5 separate regions of the Homo sapiens genome follow, and regions 2, 3, 4 and 5 are each linked to region 1. The links are contacts of gene promoters, found by promoter capture Hi-C in blood cells and fetal thymus (Javierre and others, 2016). All regions are on one chromosome and are shown on one strand. Each heading gives the region's core, a stretch centred on a gene start or on the middle of the fragment in contact. The rest is flanking DNA. Distances are from core to core; before and after follow the strand shown.

Region 1 (4,642 bases), core at 1,348-3,847:
GGGCTGTCCCTCCGAGAAGAGAAGCAAGACTTAGGCAGAAGGGGTACAGGGCCGGGGGCTGCACACAAAGACCCTAGGAGAATCCTATGCCCCAATTCAGGGAACATCTTGCAAATATGAGGGGCTGGGGTGGGAGGCAGCTCGTCAGAAAAGCACTGAGAAATGTGGCAGGGCAAGTGGCACAGCGACTACTTCAAGGCCTAGGTACAACCTTGTGAGACTGCAATGCAACCAGCTCCTGGAGCACAGTGGGACTGATGTACATTCCTAACAAGAACCTCAGGCTCAATACAGTCAATAATTAACCTAAAGGAATCAGCTTCACAAAGAGCCAGGGTTTGACCAACTTCTCAGAAAGATCAGCCACTGCTGCACATGGCAAAGCCCCAACCTACTCTACCAGGCCCAGCAGAGCACAGGAGGTGAAATGCTTCCTGCTAGGCGATGCTGACCTCGACCTAGCCACCTGACATGCCACCACCTGTCTGCTTTGGGCAGGGTAGGAAAGGCTTCCAGTTAAAGTACAAAACACTTTTCAACCAAGCTATGCAATATCCTAAGTGATCCACCTTAAGTGGAGAAAGCCTCCCTCCAACCAGGCCACCCAAGAAATAAGGGACTGGTCGCTAGAAATAACAGAAGATCCTAAGGATGTGAGCTGGTGAGTCAGTCCAGGTAGGTGCTTGTTTACTTTGCTCTTCCAATATAAGAAAGTGGTGTGAAAATTTTCACTGATGATTAAAGCTCACACACATCCCCAAGAGATAAAACGAATGCCCCTATGGAGAGGGTTCCCTTTCAGAACCTAACCACTGGCTGGTATTCAAAGTGGTTTGGATTTCATCAAAATAACCACAGCACCCCTCCTGGCCTGAGAAGTTCCCAGAATCTGAGGCAGGGGAGAAAAAGTGCACAGCCTGGGCCAGCATCTCACCTTTGAACTAGTGGTGATTTGATGACACTCGTCACCACTCTACTGGTGTTTCCAAGAAACACTGGATTTGAGGGTTACGGCAAAAAGCCACCACTATCTCTGCTGTGTAGTCTCCTAGCCAAGGACGAAAATGCAAAGGGAGAGGACAGGCCTCTCATCCACAGAGGCGTCACAGTCACGGTATGGGGCTGCAGCACGCACTGCCACCCCAGACACAGGCATCACAACGATTCTGCAGAAAAGCTGGGGCTTAGCGGCCCCATCACTCAATCAGCCGAGCATTCGAAACCAGGTCTGCCAGGCAGCAAAGGCTAAATGGTATTTTAAAAAGGTGTCGCTTCTGAGTGTATGTGTTCAAGGAATCTCTAGGTAAAATACAAGCATAGCTTCCATGTAGAAGGTAAGCTTCATTAAAGGATAAATAATTAAAACGTGCTAAATTGAGCCTTACATATGAACCATCAAAATCAACTGTAAACAGTGAAATCTACAACAACAAAGAGGTACTGTTCAAGAACATTCTCCCTACCTCTCAAATTATGCACAGACGACAACCGACCCACCGAATTTAACACGGGCGGCTCTGCGTCCTTCCCATTCGTCTTTGTTACCTTGAACACTCCTGCTAGGTAGGTACAGGCAGGTTCCATTCTGACTTTTGGACTGGGAAACTGGGGTGCAGGAGGGCCCCATGGCACGGCCACAGAACTTGAATGCAAGGCCCTTCCCTAGCGGGTCGGTCTCGAAATTAAGTCAGCTAAAACGAGAGTGTGCGGCGAGGAAGCGCTGGGCGGACGGATCAACACCCCGGGCCCCGTGCCGGACCCCACTGCCAGGCCCGAGCCCCGGAGCTCCACCGCGCAAGCGCCGGGCGCCCGGGAAGCCTCGCCCGAGCCAAGCCGAAGCTTCCGACCGAAATAATTACAGTCTTACACCAATTTGTGTTCCAACGTAAATTACTAAGTAAGTCGAACGGAGGCTAACTCCACTCACAAAGCCCAGAGGCCCACATGGCAATTTTTCTAAGCCCTGCGCAGACCGCAGCGCCCCGGTGGGTCCCGGGCGGGCCGGACGCGCCTCCCAAGGGCGCGGGTCCGAGGCGCAAGGCGAGCTGGAGACCCCGAAAACCAGGGCCACTCGGGGAGTGTCAGGAAGCACGACTGGGCGCCTTAGGACGTCCGGGCAGACGCGGCCCCCGAGGAGCCCCAGAGGAGCCCCAGAGGAGCCGCCTGACCCGGCCCCGACGTGCGCGATCGAGCCCGGGCTCGCCAAAGCCCCCGCGCCCCTCCGGCCCGGACAGGCCGAGTGGACATTGTCGGAGCCCCGCGGCCTCGCCGGCAATTGGTTTCCCCCCCGAAGCTGCTCCGGGGGTGAGTTCGGGAGAGAGAGGCAGGACCCCGGGACCAGAGCACCCCGACCCCGACCCCAGCCCGGGCCCCAGCCGCCCCAGCGCCCCGCCCGGGCCGCTCACCTGTCGTCGACGTGCAGGCTGGGCGAGCACTTGATGGCCAGCCAGGTCTTCCAGTGGACATGGCGCACCTTGTACACCTGCCCGAAGCCGCCCGAGCCCACCTTCTCCCAGCCCGTGAACTCGCCCGCGTCGAAGGTGCGCAGCAGCGCCAGGGCCCATGGGGTCCCGCCGTCGCCCTCCATCGCGCACGTCTAGCCAGCGCCGCGGCGGCTGCCCAGGTGCCCAGGTGCGCGCTCCGCCCTGTTACGTCACTTCCGTAGGTCGTCCCGCCCCCAGGCCCCGCCCACTTACCCGCCCCCCGGGCGCCCTCTCTGCCAGCGCCCGGTGACTGCGGACGGATGAATAGACGCTGCGGGTCACTGCGCTCTCCCCTGGGTGAGCAGAGCTTCTCACGCTTCTCACGGGTCTCGACGTGCGCATCAGCTGCCCTGCTTTTCTTTGCTTTTTTTTTTTCCTTAATTGCGGAGTCACATGCAGTTGTAAGAAATCATTCACTTTGCCTAGTTTCCCCCAGTGTTACCACTTTGCAAAACTTTGCCAAAAAAAAAAGTCCAATCTCACAACCAGGATATTGACTTTGATACAGTCACCGATCTTATTCAGTTTTGCCGTTTTACTCGTCTTCCTTTGCATGTATTAGTTTTACACAATGTAATCATCTGTGTACCTTCCCGTATCCACCCCCACCTGGCCACTCCTGTGGCGATTTTACAGCCGCACCCCGGAGCCCTGGCATCACTAATCTTTCCTCTATTTCTAAAATTGTTTTATTTCAGAAATGTTATGTTTAGATACAGGAATCATACAGCGCCTAATTTTTTGAAATTGGCTTTCTTCACTCGTTAGTCTAATTCCCTGCAGGTTCACGTCTTGCTTTTTTACACGAGTTTCCTCTCAGAAAGTAACTTTTTTTAAAAAATTACCCAACAGCAAATCTAAAGTCCATTTCAAATGCAAGAGTTCCCTCATCCTTTCCTAAATAACAGCCTCTTTTTACAGGTAGAACAGATGGTTTGAAAAGGAAAGATTTTTTTTTCACATATGGGGAAAAAAAATTCCCAGCCTTGGAAGGATATTTGGGTTAGAGGCCGAAGTGCATCACAGATCACGCACGCGTCCACACCTCAGAAAACACTCACTCATTCCTGAGACGCAACGGTGAGTGAAGGCTTATTTTTGGCCACAGGAGATTAATAATGAAGACAGGAGGGCGGAGCTAAAGGAGAGGGTATTTTAACGACATTAACTGTGTTTTTGTGTTAGTAACTCGGAAAGAGAGAGGCTGCCCCAAGTCAGCGCATTGAAAGCCGCAGACCTAGTGTCTCCAGGCTCCCCCTTCCAAACGGGCGCGGACCTTCTTTCATAGCCTGTAGCGGGGAGCCGCGTCTCCCCACTGCCTCCCCACTCCCATCCGGCCGCTCTTTGGAGGGAACTCACACATCCCAACATGACGATGCTTGCTCGGGGGGCCTCCTGGGGGGACCAGGGAGCCACTTCCTTTCCCACATACTCCGGAAATTAAAGTTGGTCTCCTTAAGGCTGGAGTGGCAAATAGTTGTTTTAAGCTTGTCACAAATGTAACTTACATTTGGACTAATGTTTTAAAAAATAATTGGAGTTTTGAATCTACGAAGATACCTTGGAAGTAAACATAGTTATTATTTTGGTGGGAAAAAAATGAATGGACTTGAAAGTGAGTCACCTGTCCTGTTCCCGGGGCTCAGCTCTAGCAAAGTACCTTTCTCCATCTACAGTCTCCGGCACACAGCTCCGCAGCTGGGGGTGACTAAGAGCCCACACCACGCAAGTAATAAAACGCTCCAATTTCATTTATTTAATCATCTGTGTGCTTCATTTGACAAATATTTATGGAGTGTCTGCTGCTAGCTCAGTGCCTGGTGCCTGGGACTGAAGACCAGAGCCCCCTGGAGACCAAAAGAGCCAGCTCCCAGCTGTGAGCAGATCGGGTCCAAAGATCACGGGCTCGGCGGCAGGAACCTGGTTTGGTATCCGGCTCCTCTGCGGACTTTGAAGTGCTTTACCGATTCACATGACAACTGGTAAAACGAAAACAAACACCTTTCCAGGAATTGTGAATTCGAGTTCCAGACCCTCTGGGATTCCGGGAGCGCAGCTGCTATTTATGTTAACAGTCATTGGTCCCAGGCTGGTGAGGTTAGAATTTCCAAGTATAAAAGTAATTTAGTTTCGTTTTAAATACATTTTAGGGCCAAAGA
Region 2 (4,642 bases), core at 1,371-3,870, 460 kb before region 1:
CCAACCTCTCCCAGCTCCCAACTTTTCTTCTGCAGCTTCCACACCTCTCAGCCTTCACAGAATTGAAGAAAGTTAGGACCCTGCTCTGGATTAGGCTTTGGCTTGAGGAAATATCATGGTTTACCCAGAGCAATAAAACTTTCTCCATATCAGTAACAGGGCTATTTCACTTTCTTATCATTTCTGTTTTCACTGGGGTGGCACTTATCATATCCTTTAAAAACTTTCCTTTGCATTTATAACTTAGCTAACTGTTTGGCACAAGAGGCCTGGCTTATGGCCTCTATTGGCTTTTAATATGCCTTCCTCACTAAGCTTAATCATTTCTAGCTTTTGATTTAAAGAGAAATATGTGTGACTGTTTCACTTGAATGATTAGAGGCCATTGTAATGTTATTAATTGGTCTAATTCAATATTGTTGTATCTCAGGGAACAGGCTCAAGGAGAGGGAGAGAGATGGGGAATAGCTGGTTAATGGAGCAGCCAAAGCACACACACATATATGGATGAAGTTCACTGTCTTCTGTGGACACTGTTCATGGCACCCCCAAAATAGTCACAATAGTAACATCAAAGATGTCTGATCACAGATCCCCATACCATATATGATAATGCTGAAAAAGTTTGAAGTATTGCCAGAATTACCAAAATGCGCCACAGAGACAGGAAGTAAGCACATGCTGTTGGAAACAAATGGCAGCAGTAGACTTACTGGAGGCAGGGTTGCTAGGAACCCTCAATTTGTAAAAGATGCAGTATCTGCATATGAAGTGAAGCACAATAAAGTGAGGTGTGCCTGTATTTCAAGATGTGTGTCATATAGTTCTTTTTTATACATAATCCCTTACATAACTTGTTTCTAAATCAACACTGAAATTCAGCCAGTTTTTCTCTTGATGTCTTATGACAGTGAGAGATAAAATAACCCATTAACATAACAACCGTAGTGACCACTTATGGGATGCCTCATTTGCATCCAGGATTATTCAAGGTACCTTCTCTCCATTTTCTCACTTAATCCCCACAACCACCCTATGAGATGAGTGTCACTGCCCCTGTTGTGTAGATGAAGAAGCCAGGCTCAGAGAGGTTAAATGGCATGCCCCAAACCACCCAGCCATGAGGGCAGAAGTAGAGGTTCTGGGTAGTGCTCACCCAACTTCCATGCTCTTCCTCCAAACAATCTGTGCAGCTGCCGTCAGCAGAAATGGCTTTAACAAGAGTGAAAAGCAGTAGCAAAGGCAACGAGTTTGGGTGCCAGTCTTTTGATTGTTGGTTTTTGTTTTTCTTTTCTTTTTTTTTTTTTTTTTTTTTGAGACAGAGTTTCACTCTTGTTGCCCAGGCTGGAGTGCAGTGGTGTGATCTTGGCTCACCACAACCTGTGCCTCCTGGGTTCAAGCGATCCTCCTGCCCCAGCCTCCAGAGTAGCTGGGATTACAGGCATGCACCCCTACACCCGACTAATTTTGTATTTTTAGTAGAGACAGGGTTTCGCCATGCTGGTCAGGCTAGTCTCGAACTCCTGACCTTAGGTGATCCGCCTGCCTCGGTTTTTCACACATTTTGCAGTCCAGGCGAGGTGCAAATAAACAGTGAAATGGTCATCAGGTCCCAGGAGTAGGGTTGGGACAAGTAGGAAGAGAAGTGGTGGCAGGGTCACACAGACTCTGGGAGGTCAGCAGAAGCATGTGGATCTTCCCTTGCCCTTGACCTGGTGACCTCCCACTTTAGATTCATCTTCACAAAAGGAGGTATGGGATGTGTTACTGGGACCAAGAAGACTCTGATGCAGGGTCTCAACTTAAGAGACCGAGGCTCTAGCTGAGTGGCCTTGGGCTACACACAGACTTTGTGCACTTCAGTTGCCTAATGGGTAAAAGACAGGGTGGCCAGGGATTTCCACACTGCTCAAGTGAGCACACAGCATCATCCGCCTTCAGGACTAGCTAGTTAGATGATCCTGTAAACTGTAGTACTGATTTATATTCTACTTTTGGTCAAAATCTCTTTTCCAACTGGAGTCTCCTTTTCTGACAAATGGACCATAATAGCTTCAGCCTCCCCTTGGAGCTGTTTTCTTACTTCTGTGTCACTCAAGTTCATGAGAGTTGGGTGCCTTTCCTTCCCACAGTGGGTCACCCATGTGCCAGGGTCTCTTCCTTGCTAGGCTTGAGTTCTGCTTCCGCTTCTTCCTGTCCTCCCATGCTGGCCACGAGCATCATGATGATGCAGAAAACCCATAAGGGACACGTGGAACTGTAGGATATACACATCCCCAGTCACAGTTGCAGATCAAACCATCTAAAACTTTGGATTCTTCCCAAAACCTGCAGTGTATGTTTCAGGGTGCATTGCTGCAGCTAAGAGTGTGAACCCACACCTTTCCAAATGAGAGCCATGGATTTTCTGTACAGACACATTTGGCACATTCAGGAGACTCACAGGGGAAACAGTTTGCAGCAGCTTTACCGGCAGAACCAACAAGACCAGTTTAAAAGCTTAGACGCATTGATCTGAATATTTGATGGCTGTCCTTCCTGAGGGCAATAGTCATGCCCCAGTGCCAGATACCATCACGCTTGGGAACTGGACATTTGCATTACCACCTGGTCCACCCAGGTTGTTTCCCAGAACAAAAGGGGAGCAACCCAAAATGGTGACTTTCCCTCTTTCAGGAGAGCTCAGTTTACCTTTGCCTGCCTCTTCTGGTCCCATTCAGACTCAGAAATTTTTATGTAGGCTAAGCTTTCTGCCAAGCCAGAGTTCACAGGTCTCTGGGTTTCTCATCCTCCCAGCCTGGTGCTGCAGGGAAGTGACTGACAGAGCTATGATTCAGGAAGGAGGGTGGGAGTTTCTACCCAAAGGCAGCCTTGCTCAGCCTCAACATCTTCCTTGTCTCTTGGTTCTCTTGCTCCAGGAGAAGCCTGCGGTCTCTCCACTGTCCTGCCAGTCATCACCCTGGCTCTCCATGGCTATGTTCACAATGAGCCTCACCCCACCCCGGCCCCGCATCACCAGTTCCTCTTGGTGGCACCACGTGACCATACACACTCTTTTGGCCACACAGGAGCCTGTGGGGTCACTGTCTGTCCTCTGCTCATTTGTGGGTTTTCCACTCTTGGTGCTCCCATCTGCAGCTCAGTCCTCCCTAGGAACCCCGTGAGCTACTGCCTCATTTTCTGGATCTTTGCACTAGAATGTGAGTGGCACAAGTTCCATATCTGTGTCACTTTTGTGCACTGATGCATCTCTGAAGTTTACACATTGCCTGAGATCTAGTAGGTGCTTCATCCACATCTGGCTGATTGAACTGAATTGAACTAGGACCTGTACTTCCACTAAGGTGCTCTGTCTGGGTTTCTGGCCCTTCCAAAATGAGCACACCCTTCTCCCAGGTTGGAAGAGCTCTGAAGAGTCAGCCCTGCACCATCCTCTGGTACTCCCAGGGTGCATGCTGGGACACAGAGAGCCTCTTGCTTTCCACGTAGTTGGTCAGCTGGCCCTGATTCTGGATAACATCACCCCTGGCTCAGCAAGCCTGGCTGCTCCCAGCCCTGTAGGGTGAAGGGCAGCTGCATAAGTAATGACAAGTGTAAGTGTCTGCTGGCATGTTTCATGTGTTATCCCATTTAATCTTAACAGTTCCTAAAAGGATATTTTTTCCCCATTTCACGTATTTTTTTAAAAATCTGAGTTTAAAAAGTATTAAATAAGTTGTTCCAAATCTGTTAGTTTGGTGAGGAACCTTGATTGACACCAAGTCTGACTCTAAACCTAGGTTATCTGTCCCTTTCGTTTCCAATGGATCTTCTCAGTGTTTCAGCCAGGCAGTCTAAAGCAGTGGTTCTCAAACATTTTGCTCTCAGGACCCCTTTATACACTTAAAAGTGACGGAGGAGCCCCAGGAGCTTTTGTTTCTGAAGGTTCTGGCTATTGATATTTACTGCATTCGAAGTTGAAAGTGAGGAGCAACATGACAAAACCCTGTCTCTACAAAAAAAAAAAAAAAATATATATATATATATATATATATATATATATATATATATATATATGTATATATACAAAAGTTAGTTGGGTGTGGTGGCACACACCTGTGATTCCAGCTACTCAGGAGGCTGAGGTGGGAGGATCGCATTGAACCTGGAAGGTTGAGGCTGCAGTGAGCTATGATCATGTCACCTCACTCCATCCTGGGTGACAGAGTGAGACCCTGTATTAAAAAAAAAATTAAAAATGACAAATTTTTAATATATTAATTCACTTAGAAATAAAAACAATACAACCATTGCCTGTTAACATAAACATAAATAGTTTTATGAAGAACAGTTTTATTTTCCAAAACAAAATATCTAGTGAGAAGAATGACATTGTCTTACATTTTTGCAAATCTCTTTAATGTCCTTAGCAGAAGACAGCTGGATTCTCAGGGCTCCTTTTGCATTCAGTCTGTTGAAATATGTTGTTTTCGTTGTAGGTGTGGAGAAAACTAGTTTCACACAGATACATAGTTGGAACAGTGAGGAGTACCTTAATACCCTTTTCAGATAATTGTGTGTATTAGTCCATTTTCACACTGCTGATAAAGACATACCTGAGACTGGGCAATTTACAAAAGAAAGAGGTTTATTGGACTTACAG
Region 3 (4,642 bases), core at 592-3,091, 400 kb before region 1:
CGTGTCGTCTCCGTGAGCCTGCAGGGGCACCCAGCCAGCCGACAGGCTCCCGAGACAGTCCACTCACACAGACACACTGTAGCCATTTCTGAAGATTGTGCAGGGGAGACAGATGGTTCACCAGGCACACACCAGACAACCCGAAACCTACATTCCTTACTCAACAGGCCCGTGTCAGAAAATCCTCCCTAAACTGCAATGGGGAGGGGGACTGAGGGAATTCTCATCCCCTACATGTCACCCCACGGCTCACTCCTGCCTCCGACCTTCACACATGTTCACCCCTGCAACTTTTCACCCCTTTATTTTGCAGAGCAATCTGTGCCCAGCTCCTGTCCTCTCAAACTTAATCAGCTCATGATACGCTTAGCAAGACCTGCCCTTCATGAAAATGAGGGTGAGGGTGAGGGTGGCGACAGTTTTAAATATGTTTTAAAAGGAACATGAAATGAAGAATATTGGGCTTCACAAAAGGAACCCTCCTTTCCCTTGTTCTTTCTTCCCATGGAGAGGAAGAAGTTGAGGCTGAGTTATCACCTCCCATCAGCACTCGGTTTTGTTCCTGGACCCCTGACTTCGTCACCAAGGGCAGCTGGCTCCAGCTCTCAGCCTTTGAAGGATATTGTGGCTAGGGGTTCAGAGTCCCAGGCTCCCTCCCAGACAGATGGGTGGAGTGAGGCCACCTGAGATCTCACTTGCTAGGGTGGGTGCCACCAGGCCCACCGAGCTGCTGGGTCCTGGCCAAGCCCTCCTGTACCCCCTGAGAAAGTCTCCGTAGGGCTAGGAGCTGTTTGTGCCAACTTTAGATGGACTCATCTCTCAGTGATCCCATAAAATTGCTGCCTAGCCCTTCTGGTTTCAAGGATTTCACATCAGAAAACGTTTTACGAACCCAGGGCTAGTTCTGAAAACAGGAAGTGCTTTCAGCCCCCATGGGAGGAGGGGGGTGCAGGAGGCCTGTGGACCTGGACCTCTGGGAGCCAGGCTGGAGAACAGGAGCTGAAGGCTGAGCGGCGGCGGGGCCATTCACACAACCATGGTCTTTCCTCCCAGTGAGGAGGGACCCCAGGTGGGGCTGCTGAGCTCAGGAGCCGCTGGCTCTGCTGGAAGATCCGCCCCTCTGAGGCTGCGCGGGGAGGATGCAAGACTGGGCAAGAGCTCATTAGGAAACGCTGAGACAGAGGGTCCTAGTGAAGATTCCACTGCAGAGAGGGCAGTCCAGGTCATCACAGGGTGACATCTGGGGATGAGGCTGGCCGGGGCACGGGGCAGGTTTTTGAGCCCGGCAGTGTAAGCAGTCTCTGTCCCAAGGGAGGAAAGCCGCTGAGAGCTGCTGGGCCAGCAGGTGGGAGTGCTGGGCTGGCCTCAGGGTTTCTGGAAGGGGTATTCCCGAGAAGTGAGGTGCTGCTCTGGGACTCTGGTGCCCCTGGGGCCTTCCTGCAGGGCGCTCTCAGCAGCCACCTTCGGTAGAAGCCAGGGCCACCCTGCATGGGGGATGATGCCGCATCCAGCACAGAGCCTTGCGATCAGTCACTCTCCTCCCTCCACAATAGCGGGGACCTCCCTGCCCGCCGCACCCCTGCCCCCCGCCCCCGCCCCCGCTCCCGCCCCGCCGTGGCTGTGCAGCAAGCAGGGGACAGTCCCATCAGCAAAGTCGGGGAACTTCCAGGAAGCCCGCGTCCCCCTCAGCCTGCCTTTAGCCAGAAAAGATTCCAAGCTCTGCTCTCTACTTTGGAAAGCCAGTGTTTGCATGTGGAGATTGTTTTGCTAGACTCGACGAGGGTAGCAAAGCAACAGGAAGTGTTCCCCAGAGCTCCGCCCACGACTTGCGTGGCCCAAAGCTGGATGGTCGTCCGTCCCACCATGGCGGGTGGGTAAAGGTTCTTTTCCTGGGCTGTGTCATTCCACCCAGAGCAAGGGATAAGCCTGTGATAGCCGTAAATCCGGAACCACTACCAAGGTGAAAGACCTTCAAGTTAATTGTTGGAACCTGCGGCTCTAACACTTCCAGCAAAGCTACTTCTGTGAAAGCTGTGACGAGCAGAGGAAATGGGACAGGAGAGGAGCTGAATCCTGAGATTGTATCGCTAGGAGCCCCCAAAGTACGATGACGGTCCTCGGGCCAGCATGGGGGTGCATTGGCACCATGTAAGGAAAGGGGCCCTCCCGTGGCACCGTTGGAGTGGGGCGGTGTGGGGTTGTTCGGAGAGAAAAGTTTCCCATGAGCTCTGTTTCAGCAAACGGCGATGACCACTTCCGTGGCAACTAAACAGTCTTGCCTTCCTGCACGTGGACATTTTTCTTCATGCATATTTCTCTTGCAAATGGTTCTATTGTTTGTATAACAGTATTTCATGAGCGGAGAAGAGTTGGAAGCAAAAATCTGTTCATGAGAAATGTAAGTATGTGGTAACATTGCCTTCAGTGAAATTGAGAGCAGATCTAAAGGGATGTGAAAAGCATCAGGGTGCTCATATAGGAGGCAGGATCATTTCCCCCAGACCGCGGCCATGCGGGTTGTGTTTTATGGTAGGAGTGATTATGGCAGCCTATGTGTGTCTGGGCATAAGAATACTTATTCTATGGATCTTAAGGTAATTATGTGTTGGAATTATGTGTTGGAAAATGTATGGCGTGGAATTCAGTAGGGGAATGCTCACGATTTGTGTGGTTCCTGGAGTTGGAAATGGGTGGCAGATCCAGCAAGAGGCAAGATTTCCAAATGGACTGCTGAGTCATTCTTAGGGTGGGCTAGGAGAAAATGTGTTTTGGTCTGAAGGAGGGAGGAAGAAGACAAAAACAAGTAAATTAGAAAACGTGGTTGCAGGATTGAAATCTGATCCTGAAAAAGAGAGAATAGCCATGAGTATAATGTTTAAAAATACACACAAAGAAATCCACTGTGGTGGGAGTCACAAGAAGTTCAATCATTATCTGGTCTCGTCATCTCGAGTGAAGCTGTCCACTCCCAAAGCCGACTGCTTGGTCCATAGCTCTTAGTTTTTGCATCTGGAGGCTTTTGTGGTTAGTGTTGGTTTGAGGTCATTTGAGCTGATCCATTGGTCTGGGTTTGTTGCCTGTTTCTACTGACTCTTGAGTACTTGGGTCAACACCTTGGATCTTGACTGCCCTGGCATTTGCTAGGAGGACCTGAAATGGCTCCTTCCAAAGAGGTCTGAAAAGTTTTTGCCTTGAGGTCTCTTCCAGCGGACCCACACCAGGCTGGAGGTCAGAAAAGTCTGGCCGGCATTTCCTCTGGCTGGCATTTCCTTTGGGCACGAGACTTGGTGTGTGAGGCTAATCCTTGACAATGCTTAACTGCGTACATGAAATGGAGCAGAGCCAGGCCTTGCTGGAGTTACTCCTGGTCATGTACAGCATCTGGTTATGATCTCATGGGGTGCTGGACTAAGTGAGCACTCAGAGACGGTCACGCCAATAGCCTATTATATCCTCGACCTAGGAGTTAAGGAGTAATCTTCTGCTTACTCCTTAAGCAGCTCCTTAAGGAGCTGAGGCAGATAAATTGGGTGTGGCAAGCGGGGTGTCTGCCAGGCCCAGGAGCCCCGGCTGTCACCAGTGCATGATGTGACTTTGGGTGAGCCACATCTTCTGCTTACAGATAGAGGCCAAGACCGCACGGCCAATAAAGCTGGTGGCAAAACTCAAAGCCCAGAGAGATGGAGGGTTTTTTATAGTTAGGGAATTTCAGCTTCAGTGTGTGATTGATTTTGTATTTTGCGAACACCGAGGGTGATTCAGACAGTGAAGTGTCTGTGTTAGAAGAAGGACCCTCCAGGACAGTAAGTCTATAATCTTTTGATAGGAAGATAGGTATTGTCCATGCTGAGAATAGAAAGTCTAGCAAGAGGTAGACTTGCTATCATGAACCCATGGCTCTGAATCCTGTCTCACCTTTACAGTCTTGCCTGGGTTATATTGGTTGCAGATGAGATAGGACTCTACCACTTCCTGGGCCAATTCCAGAAAATTTCCTGACCAATATGCATTGCATGTAAAACTTAATTTACCTTTTCCATGATGCAAACAATTATGGAGTAATTTAGCTAGGAAGGCTCATGGCACTCAAGGACAGGTGTTCTGAGATGACCAGATTCCATCTTTATTAAGAAACTATTTTTGAGATTGCCAATATTACTTGTCAGAAGTTTGCATCGATTATTATGAGTCAATTATAAATGGATCCAATTTTCTTTCTGAAAGTTTGGTGGATAGATGTCAGTTACTATTTTAGAACTCTTAATATAGTATTTAAAGCTATTTTTTTTTAACATGAAGTCAGTAAGGACATCGCCCTTGACTTCTGGCATGGCTTCTCAACTAAAAGCTTCTACTTTAGTATCTCATACCTCCTTTGGATATTGGGTAGCTTCTAATAAGTTACTGATCCCTTACTCATTTTTGATGTGAACAATCACAGATATCATAAATCCTCTGTGCTTCCGTAGCATCCCCAAATCATAAGCAGCTCCAAATGCCCATCTTATCTATTCTTGGTATAAATGCTTACTGTTTTATCTCTTAAAATAATGTGACTTGAAGTCAGGACTACAGCTTAGCCACTGGGAAATAGCTCACATGAAGAGATAGAACATTTTGATGGGTGCATGGCAGTTTCCTA
Region 4 (4,642 bases), core at 1,582-4,081, 370 kb after region 1:
CGGCCAGCAGGATTCAGCCAAGGGTAGATATGTGTGTGTCTGTGTTTTGTGGCCCTTTACGGAGCGTGCAGCCTCCCTTCTGAAAAAGCAACCAGGAGCAGGCAGAGAGGGGAAACTACAGGTAGGTTGGTGAAGGTTCGATCGCTTCACACACCCACTGGACTGGCTCCACGATACCAGCGGCAGTGCTATATGGGTGACCACAGGACCCAGGGGCCCACCACAAATCCCATCTCTGCCACCCACTCTCTTGACCACCCGGGCAAGGTCCTGAGCCTCTTGGTGCCTCGGTTTCATCATTTGTAAAAGAAACCATGGTAACATTTCCGGCCACGTGGAGGGTGTGAGATTTAAATGGGAAGATGCCCAAGAGGCCCCGCTATGGGGTCTGACGCCCTCAATTGCTGGTGGATCCTAACGATGGTCCTCGGCCGAGTGTCCCTGAAACCTGGTGCTCGTAGGGATTGTCACGTGTGGTGTGGATGCCACAGTGGACCCCCCACACCTTGCTGCTCATGCCCGCAGCCCCGACTTATGTATGACCTTTTGAGGCTGAAGATGCTTCTCTGATCTGCCCTGTGGACTTTTGTTTTTCCTGGGCCTGCACATAGTTCACCACAAATGAATGACAAGCATTATGGAGGGCAGTATGGTTAGTATAAACCTTCAGTGGGAAACACCAAGACTGGGACTTTTGTAAAGATTTTCAGATTTTTTTTTTTTTTGAGATGGAGTTTTGCTCTTGTTGCCCAGGTTGGAGTGCAGTGGTGCGATCTTGGCTCACCACAACCTCCACCTCCCAGGTTAAAGCGATTCTCCTGTCTCAGCCTCCTGAGTAGCTGGGATTACAGGCATGCGCCACCACACCCAGCTAGTTTTGTATTTTTAGTAGATACAGGGTTTCTCCATGTTGGTCAGGCTGGTCTCCAACTCCTGACCTCAGGTGATCCACCCGTCTCGGCCTCTCAAAGTGCTGGGATTACAGGCGTGAGCCACCGTGCCCGGCCAAATTTTGAGATTTTTCTAAAAAAAGAACATGCCTGTAATCCTAGCACTTTTGGAGGCCAAGGCAGGAGGATCGCTTAAGCTTAGGAGTTCCAGACCAGCCTGGGCAAGATAGAAAGACTCCATCTCTACAAAAAATACAAAAATAAGCCGGGTGTGGTGGCACACACCTGTGGTCCCAGCTACTTGGGAGGCTGAGGTGGAAGGATCCCTTGAGCTCGAGAGGTGGAGGTTGCAGTGAGCCGAGACTGCCCCACTACACTCCAGAGGGGAACCCTGCCTCAAAAATAAATAAATACTAATAAAAGAAGAAGAGAAGCAATCATGAGGCTTATCTGGCAGCGTGTGAGACTGCTGACTCCAAATGCTGTAAGGGAAGCATGCGGCTTCGGCTTCTGGGGAGGCCTCAGGAAACTTACAATCATGGCAGAAGACCAAGGGGAAGCAGGCACGTCTTCCATGGCTGGAGCAGGAGGAAGGGGTTGGGGCAGGTGCTACAGATGTTTAATCAACCAGATCTTATGAGAGCTCTATCGTGAGACAGCACCAAGAGGATGGTGCTAAATCATTTATGAAGGATCCGCCCCATGATCCAACCACCTCCCACCAGGCCCCACCTTTAATATGGGGATCACATTGAACATGAAATTTGGGTGGGGACACAGACCCACACCATATCAACTGCCCACCCTCTCAGCCAACAGGAGAACAAGGAAAGACGAGAGGCCAATTTTCCCTCGATGTTTTAATTTCAAGGAGGGGGACATCCAGCATGACCCAGCACCGACCCACCAGATGTCCTTAGAAAGCTAGTGGGATAGTGTTGGCCTCATCGCTGGGATTCGCATCTTAAATATTAAGTAAAAGGCACTGACATTTCCTCGTAACTCTATCTAGGGAGGTGACTGGTCTCTAGCACTGGTCCCGTCTATGCTGTAAGGGTCCTGAGACCCCAGAATACTGCGCATGTTAGTTACCAGGAGTCCTGGCAGGAGAGACGGGAAAGACAAAGCTAACACAAGCGTCCCCCTCACATGGGCAGAATCACTTCCACAAGCGGGTGGCGTTTTCTTTGAAGTTGCCCAGCAAGGGCAGCATGGAGGTTGCCTTTTGGAAACGTGTGCTGTAGTCTGGGCTTTGCTGGTGACCTGGGAGGATTGGCTTGAGTTCTCTGGGCCCCATTTCCTCATTTTAAGATTGGAGCCAGTGTCTACTACACTTTGCTGAGTTGTTTCAAAAATCTGTTATCTCAAGAAAATAAGGACCTGAGCACAGGAAAGATGGGCTGGGCTGGAGAAGCTGCCTGCCCGACGAAGAGGGGGTGGGCTGATGTTGACAATGTCTGTTGTTTCCCAACATCCCCGTGAGGTTGTGCTGTTATTAGCATCCTGTGTTATAGATGGGAATCCAGGGCAGAAAGGGATAGACGTCCCAGGTCACGTGGCTAGGAGGTCCAGGGCAAGAAGGGATAGGTGTCCCAGGTCACGTGGCTAGGAGGTCCAGGGCAGGAAGGGATGTGTCCCAGGTCACGTGGTTGGGAGGTCCAGGGCAGGAAGGGATAGGCCTCCCAGGTCACATGGCTGGGAGGTGGCCGAGCTGGGGCTGCATGGGATTTCCGTTTGGCTCTGGGGTCAGCTCTCTTAGCTACCAAGCTTAGAGCCTTTCTTACACTAGTGTTCACATGACTGATGGACCCTTAGAACAATGCCCCTTGCCTTTCCCCTTCATCAGAGACCCGGAGAATTTGTATTTTAGCAGCTGTGCAAGGGGATCCACAATTCTTAATTCTTGCAGTGGGGACACCAGGTGTCCCAGTTGAGAGGCAGCAACTGTTGTGGTTACAGGGAAGGAGCCTTCCCAGGACCCCTGAGCCTCCCCGGGAGGCAGGTGCTGCTGCTCAATTGTGGTCTGGGTCCTCAGCCACCTCCGGGGATCCCAAAGGGGCAGGGAACAACAGCGAAGTTTCAGTTCAACTTTACACTCTAATAGTGAAAAATAAGGAAGCTTCCTCAGTTTGGTAGCTTTTGGCCTCTGGTTTGGGGCCCATGGGGTTTGGGCCATGAAGACCCCCTCCTCACCAACCCCATTGCCTCCCATCCTGGGCAGGAGACATTGTCAATACCAGCCCGCCCCCTCTTCGTCAGGCAGGCAGCTTCCCCAGCCAAGCCCGTCTTCCCTGTGCTCAGGTCCTTATTTTCTTGAGATAACAGATTTTTGAAACAACTCAGCAAAGTATAGTAGACACTGGCTCCAATCTTAAAATGAGGAAATGGGGCCCAGAGAACTCAAGCCAATCCTCCCAGGTCACCAGCAAAGCCCAGACTACAGCACACGTTTCCAAAAGGCAACCTCCATGCTGCCCTTGCTGGGCAACTTCAGAGAAAACACCACCCGCCTGTGGATGTGATTCTGCCCATGTGAGGGGGATGCTTGTGTTAGCTTTGTCTTTCCCGTCTCTCCTGCCAGGACTCCTGGTAACTAACATACGCAGTATTCTGGGGTCTCAGGACCCTTACAGCATAGACAGGGCCAGTGCTAGAGGCCAGTCACCTCCCTAGATAGAGTTACGAGGAAATGTCAGTGCCTTTTACTTAATATTTAAGATGCGAATCCCAGCGATGAGGCCAACACTATCCCGCTAGCTTTCTAAGGAAATCTGGTGTATTGGTGCTGGGTCATGCTGGATGTCCCCTTCCTCGAAATTAAAACATCCGAGGGAAAACTGGCCTCTTGTCTTTCTTTGTTCTCCCGGGGCTCCTGTCTTTCGAAGTGAGAACTGTCTCACCAGTTCTAAAGTTCCTGCAGACATCTGCTCTTTGAAAACCATCAGCCAACCCACCCACCCCCACCAGGTCGACCCTTGGGCAGCCCCACTCAGAGATGTTCCCAGAGTCCTGGTGGGTTCTCCACGGATGGTGCAAAGGTGCAGGGGCCCCAGCTGTGCTCGTCTGGCTCAGGTATCTTCACCAGCCACCCCCACCAGTTGGCGTGTCAGGAGCATCGCTCACCTGAGGGCAGGCACAGCCCCATGGTCCCCGTTCCACTGGGCACTCTGGGAGTGGCTGCCTTTTCATTAGGGGCTTGATCTGTCCCTCTCCAGTAAACATAGACGCCATGTCCTCGGGTTGGTGTTTCCTCCACTACCCCTCCTCCTGGGGTTTTCTGTATTAACTTTACCTTTCCTGCGTGCAAGCTGACCCAGGTGACCTCTTCCTCCACACAGGTCGCCGTGAGTCAAGCTGCCTCCAGAACCTCAGAGCTTCCCTGGTGGGCTCCCCCGGGATCCCCAGTGTCTCTCTGCACCTCCACCCATCCCTCGGTTCTTAACTCTTCAAGCCTTAACGGAGGTCTGCTCTGACGGGTGGGCTCTGCCAGAGCCCGGGTGAGCCCAGAAAGGAAGACAGCAGCCACCGTCTGTCCCGAAGAGGCAGGCCGTCCTGTAGGTCCTAGAGGAGCCACAGCCCAGGGGCAGATGAAGGGGCTGCGGAAGACGGGGGCAGTCCTGGGGGTGCTGCGGCTACACCACCACCCGCGCGGCCCCCGCAGCCTAGACCTCCCAGGCCTGTGACCCTCCACACCAGCCCTCAGAACCCTCCTGGGCTTGCCCTCCCTTGGCGTCCGTCACCCTTTGGCAAAT
Region 5 (4,642 bases), core at 1,066-3,565, 300 kb after region 1:
TGCCCTGTGTTTGGACTGGGTCGAGGCTGTCAACCTTGCTGCCCCTCGGAGTCCCCCCTGGTGTCCCCCAAACAGATTCTAAGCTGCTTTCCTGGGGCTGGAGGCCAGGCATTGGGATTTTTTAAAGAGCTTCCCAGCAGGTGAGCAGCCTTTCATGGGTATCAGGAGACCTTCCTGGCAAATGTGGTGAAGGTCCTTCCTCCTGAGCGATGCCTTAGACCCAGGAGCCCAGGGAGGCTGCTCACCTGATCGTTAGGACAGGAGCAGTGGAAACCTCTGGCCTCAGACCCCCTGGAGGAATCCCTCCCTCTAAGACTCTGGGACTGGTGCACGCAAGGAGCTATCGTGAACATTGCTCCCAACTGGCCGCTTGCTTGTCCCCCGGCTCCCCTTGGCCCCAGTGGCGGCTTTGCCTGAATTAGAGGGCGTGAGAGCCACCTGTGTCTCAGCACTGCAATTAAAGCAGGAAGCCCTTTCGGAAGCAGCCGTGTGCACCAGCCTCCCATGGGTGGAGCAGAGCAAACCACCCACTTCTGCCCTCTGCCCTTCTTCCCTTTTCTCGACACCCTGCGGCCCCCCAGTTTCAGCAGAGTTTATTTGGGGTGAAAAACAAGAGATGCTCAGCGCCTGTGGGATGTGTGGGCTGACTCGTACATTAGGATGTGTGTCAATCTGAAATAACCTGGCCGTTATATGGATGCCTTGGGGCTTGGGGGGTTTCTGGCAGTCTGTCGAGCCCGAGGTGAATGTCCCCAAGGCTGCTGGTGAATCAGATCCCTGGCGTTCTCCGTTGGCAGTTCAGCCCAACAGTTTCTCTGCCGGCCGTGCCTCTGCAGGTCCCTCCTCTGATCTGATTGGATTAATATTTGAATCAATAGACTGAGTCAAGCAGAATGTGGGTGGGCCTCATGCAATCAGCTGAAGCCCTGAAAAGAGCAAAAGGGCTGCCCCTTCCCCCGAGGAGGAGAGAACCCCTCCTGCCGGACGGCCTCCGAACTGGAACATCAGCTTTTTGCTGCCTTTGGACTTGAACTGAAACATTACCTCTCCCTGGGTCTTGAGTCTGCCTACGTTGGCACGGGAACTACACGTTGGCTCTCTTGGGCCCCAGCTTGCTGACTCACCTTGCAGGTGGTGGTGGACTTGTCAGCTCCGTAACTGTGTGAGCCAATTTCAATTTCTTAGAATCACAAATTTCTTTCTTTCTTTTCTTTTTTTCTTTTGAGACAGAGTTTCGCTTTAGTTGCCCAGGCTGGAGTGCAAAGGTGTGATCTCGGCGCACTGCAACCTCTGCCTCCAGGTTCAAGCGATTCCCCTGCCTAAGCCTCCTGAGTAGCTGGGACTGCAGGCGCCCAACACCACACCTGGCTAATTTTTGTATTTTTAGTAGAGATGGGTTTTTGCCATGTTGGCCAGACTGGTCTCTAACTCCTGACCTCAGGTGATCTGCCCGCCTCAGCCTCCCAAAGTGCTGGGATTACAGGCGTGCACCAACATGCCCGGCCCACAAATTTCTTTCTTTTCTTTTCTTTTTTTAAAATCAGTTTTCTGTTTCTCTGGAGAATCCTGACAAAGAGCGCATATCTGAGAATTTTAAAATCATTTATTGGAACTATTGAATCTGTTGTATTCTGTTTTTACTTTTGAAAATCCTTGCGGCTGGGGGAATGTACACCTTCTCTCTTTTCCTCTTAAACATTAAAGCCTGATTCGAGGTAGAGGCAACTCACTGTTGTGATGTCCTTTTATCCCAACCTCAGCCCCGGCAGAAAGACTCCGCGCCTTGGGACATTGGTGTTTTCCAGGAGTGACTGTGCTGGGGCAGCTGCCTGTTGCGATGAGGGCTGGCGGGGAACGATCCCCTCTGAGTTTGGCGTCACTTATTTGGAACCCTCCAGCAGAAAGCTTTCTAAGATGCCACACTATAAACTCATTCATGCAGTTATTGCGTTTCAGTTCAGATTCTATTGCTCTTGCTTCATTATTTCAAAGCCACATGATGATATCCATTACTGGGTGCAGAATGGCCCTGATGGGTCTAGAAGCACCGTGGTCTGACCCGTCCTAAGAGATGATCCAGTCACGAAATGCTGGTGCAGGTGTGGATCGAGCCAGTTATCTTCACTATCTGGAAACAAGACCCTGAAGTCCAGGTGGCCAAGGACTGCACCAGATCTCTTTCTTTTTTTTTCTTTTTTTTTTTTTGAGGCGGAGTCTCGCTCTGTCACCCTGACTGGAGTACAGTGGCATGATCTTGGCTCACTGCAACCTCCGACTCCCTGGTTCAAGCGATTCTCCTGCCTCAGCCTCCCGAGTAGCTGGGATTACAGGCATGCACCCCCATGCCCAGATTTTGTATTTTTAGTGGAGAGGGGGTTTCACCATGTTGGCCAGGAGGGCCTCGATCTGCTGACCTTGTGATCTGGCCGCCTCAGCCTCCCAAAGTGTTGGGATTTCAGGAGTGAGCCACTGCACTCAGCCTGCACCAACTTTTACAGACAGGCTGGAGTCCTGTCTAGAAGTCAGGACACCAGGCCTGGCTGGCACCCTATTCTCCAGACCACGCTGCCCTCCGCAGCCAGGTCCCAGGACCCAGACATAGGTGGATTTTTGTTTCTGACTTGCATTCGCTCTTTTACATGAACCGTGAATTCTTTGTCCTAACGTTATTGTTAGGGCGACAGCATTCCTGATCGTGGTGCTAATGCGGTTATCAATAGGCTCCAAAGCTTATCCTTGATGCTCACGATCTCAGAGTTGGAAGAGGCCCTGGCAAGCACCCAGGCCAGTCTTCTCTGGTAAGTGCCCTATGCCCTTAAAACCACCTCAGGATTTCAAGGACAGAGACAAATTAAAAATAGAGGCTTAATTCTCCTGATTGAAAAGAAGGGAAGAGATTTTTCTCTCCTTTTTCTCTGAGCATTACTCTTTATTTATTTATTTATTTTTTGAGACGGAGTCTCGCTCTGTCGCCCAGGCTGGAGTGCGGTGGCGCAATCTCGGCTCACTGCAACCTCCACCTCCTGGGTTCAAGCAATTCTCCTGCCTCAGCCTTCCGAGTAGCTAGGATTACAGGTGTGTGTCACTATGCTTGGCTAATCTTTTTTGTATTTTTAGTAGAGGCAGGGTTTCACCATGTTGACCAGGCTGGTCTTGAACTCCTGACCTCAGGCGATCTGCCCAGCTCAGCCTCCCAAACTGTCTCCTGGCCTCTCTGGTTTCCTAGGGAGGCCAAAAGCCTAACTTAGTTGATCTTGCTCCAAGCTGCAAAACCACCTCCTGTCATGAAGATAGGAGTTCATTCTTCTTCTAGATACAGACAATTAACAAACACAGATGGTAACCCCAGTGACCAGGTGGTTCTGGGGTCAACGGTGTGTGACAAATGGCACTGTCAGGGCCTCTTCCTTAAGGACTAGTTATTGTTTATGTTGAAAACACGCATGCAGTTAGTTGTACCTGTTTGAGTCTTTAAAAGGATAAGATCCTTTCTTTGCAGTCTCTTAGCCATTGCTTGTGATGCATATCATCTTCTGGCTTAACGGTTATTCAATAATGAAACTTTTCTTTCTTTTCCACCTTTGTGGAGAGGTTTCCTGGGTTTAGAGCACACGTCTTTTTTCTTTCTTTTTTTTTTTTTTTGAGATGGAGTCTCGCTCTGTCCTCCAGGCTGGAGTGCAGTGGCGCGATCTTGGCTCACTGCAACCTCCGCCTCCTGGGTTCAAGCAATTCTCTGCCTCAGCCTCCCAAGTAGCTGAGATTATAGGCATGTGCCACCACACCTGGCTAATTTTTGTATTTTTAGTAGAGATGGAGTTTCACCATCTTGGCCAGGCTGGTCTTGAACTCCTGACTTCGTGATCCACCCCCCACCCCTCCCAAAGTGCTGGGATTACAGGCATGAGCCATTGTGCCTGGCCAGCACATTTTATTTTTAATTATATTTCCCCAGTAATGGCCTTACCTACATTTAATGACAATAAGTGATGGATACTTAAAATACACTCTAGTTCTAGAAGGCATTCCCATACATTAATTAATTTGGTTTTCATAAAATCAGGAGGCATTAAAACACCATTAAATTAGAAGGCATCACTATTCCCTTTTGGTAATTTCTCATTTAGGAAACCGAGGCACTGAATGGATAAATGCCACCCAGGGGACCCTGTCCAGCCGTTGGCAGAACGAGGACTGGACTGAGGGTATTTGGCTCCTAATCCAGGGCTTTCCCCAGGTTCCACTGTGAGGCATGCAGGGTCTGAAAACACACCGGCACGTGCGTGTCCACTGCCCCCCTGGCCTTAGCTATGCCTTTGCTGTGTTACGGAAGCACCTCTGAAGGCCTGGGCGCCTCTTCTGGGAGTTTCTCGTGTCTCTTCGCCTTCCGATCTGCTCTGGCCTTGCCACGAGAAAGCGACAGGCCCATGCTGCTCCTTGGGGCCTGGAGACAATGTCCCAACCCCAGGCCGCACCCTCGCTTTCCATCCAACCCGGCAACTGCTGCCCGTGGAGGGCCACAGTCTCCGAAGTGGAATGTGGAAAAGGAAAAGTCATTCGGGCTGTGATAAGAAAGCCGAGCTTCTTCAAAGGTAAACAGAAACAGAGACAAAGACGAGGGCACGTGTCTGTGTGAGTGAGGGAG

Evidence for each region. The method cuts DNA at HindIII sites, captures the fragments that hold promoters and counts their contacts. A CHiCAGO score of 5 or more calls a contact.
Region 2: a fragment that was not itself captured here is called in contact with the fragment with the promoter of RIPK4 in region 1 in 1 of 17 cell types (endothelial precursors); the score reaches 5.0 in endothelial precursors.
Region 3: a contact is called between a fragment that was not itself captured here and the fragment with the promoter of RIPK4 in region 1, in 1 of 17 cell types (fetal thymus). The highest score is 5.8, in fetal thymus.
Region 4: a fragment that was not itself captured here is called in contact with the fragment with the promoter of RIPK4 in region 1 in 1 of 17 cell types (fetal thymus); the score reaches 5.5 in fetal thymus.
Region 5: a fragment that was not itself captured here is called in contact with the fragment with the promoter of RIPK4 in region 1 in 1 of 17 cell types (fetal thymus); the score reaches 5.5 in fetal thymus.

The regions. Positions count from the first base shown.
Region 1 is chr21:41,764,455-41,769,096 of GRCh38, forward strand. RIPK4 (receptor interacting serine/threonine kinase 4) reads right to left here and starts at 2,598. Exons shown (of 8, transcript NM_020639.3): 1 at 2,406-2,598. The coding sequence starts at 2,587. It overlaps LOC102724800 (a long non-coding RNA gene), which reads left to right and starts at 2,713. Exons shown (of 5, transcript XR_937745.3): 1 at 2,713-2,780; 2 at 3,405-3,563; 3 at 4,160-4,642. RefSeq lists enhancers at 1-310, 4,215-4,509. The HindIII fragment of the contact is 2,131 bases long and covers 1,838-3,968 here.
Region 2 is chr21:41,307,242-41,311,883 of GRCh38, forward strand. It overlaps a transcript of FAM3B not described here. Among named protein-coding and RNA genes, the nearest start is that of FAM3B, 7.2 kb to the right of the region's middle. The HindIII fragment of the contact is 247 bases long and covers 2,498-2,744 here.
Region 3 is chr21:41,368,248-41,372,889 of GRCh38, forward strand. All of the region lies in intron 1 of MX2 (MX dynamin like GTPase 2), which reads left to right. Among named protein-coding and RNA genes, the nearest start is that of MX2, 8.5 kb to the left of the region's middle. RefSeq lists enhancers at 540-1,228, 938-997, 1,229-1,915, 1,790-1,934, 1,868-2,077 and 1 more, a silencer at 628-677 and a cis regulatory region at 1,862. The HindIII fragment of the contact is 5,010 bases long and covers 1-4,346 here.
Region 4 is chr21:42,137,868-42,142,509 of GRCh38, forward strand. UMODL1 (uromodulin like 1) reads left to right here. Exons shown (of 23, transcript NM_001004416.3): 23 at 4,229-4,642. Among named protein-coding and RNA genes, the nearest start is that of UMODL1-AS1, 32 kb to the left of the region's middle. The HindIII fragment of the contact is 352 bases long and covers 2,656-3,007 here.
Region 5 is chr21:42,063,351-42,067,992 of GRCh38, forward strand. It overlaps a transcript of UMODL1 not described here. Among named protein-coding and RNA genes, the nearest start is that of UMODL1, 5.6 kb to the right of the region's middle. RefSeq lists enhancers at 748-817, 4,001-4,555. The HindIII fragment of the contact is 824 bases long and covers 1,904-2,727 here.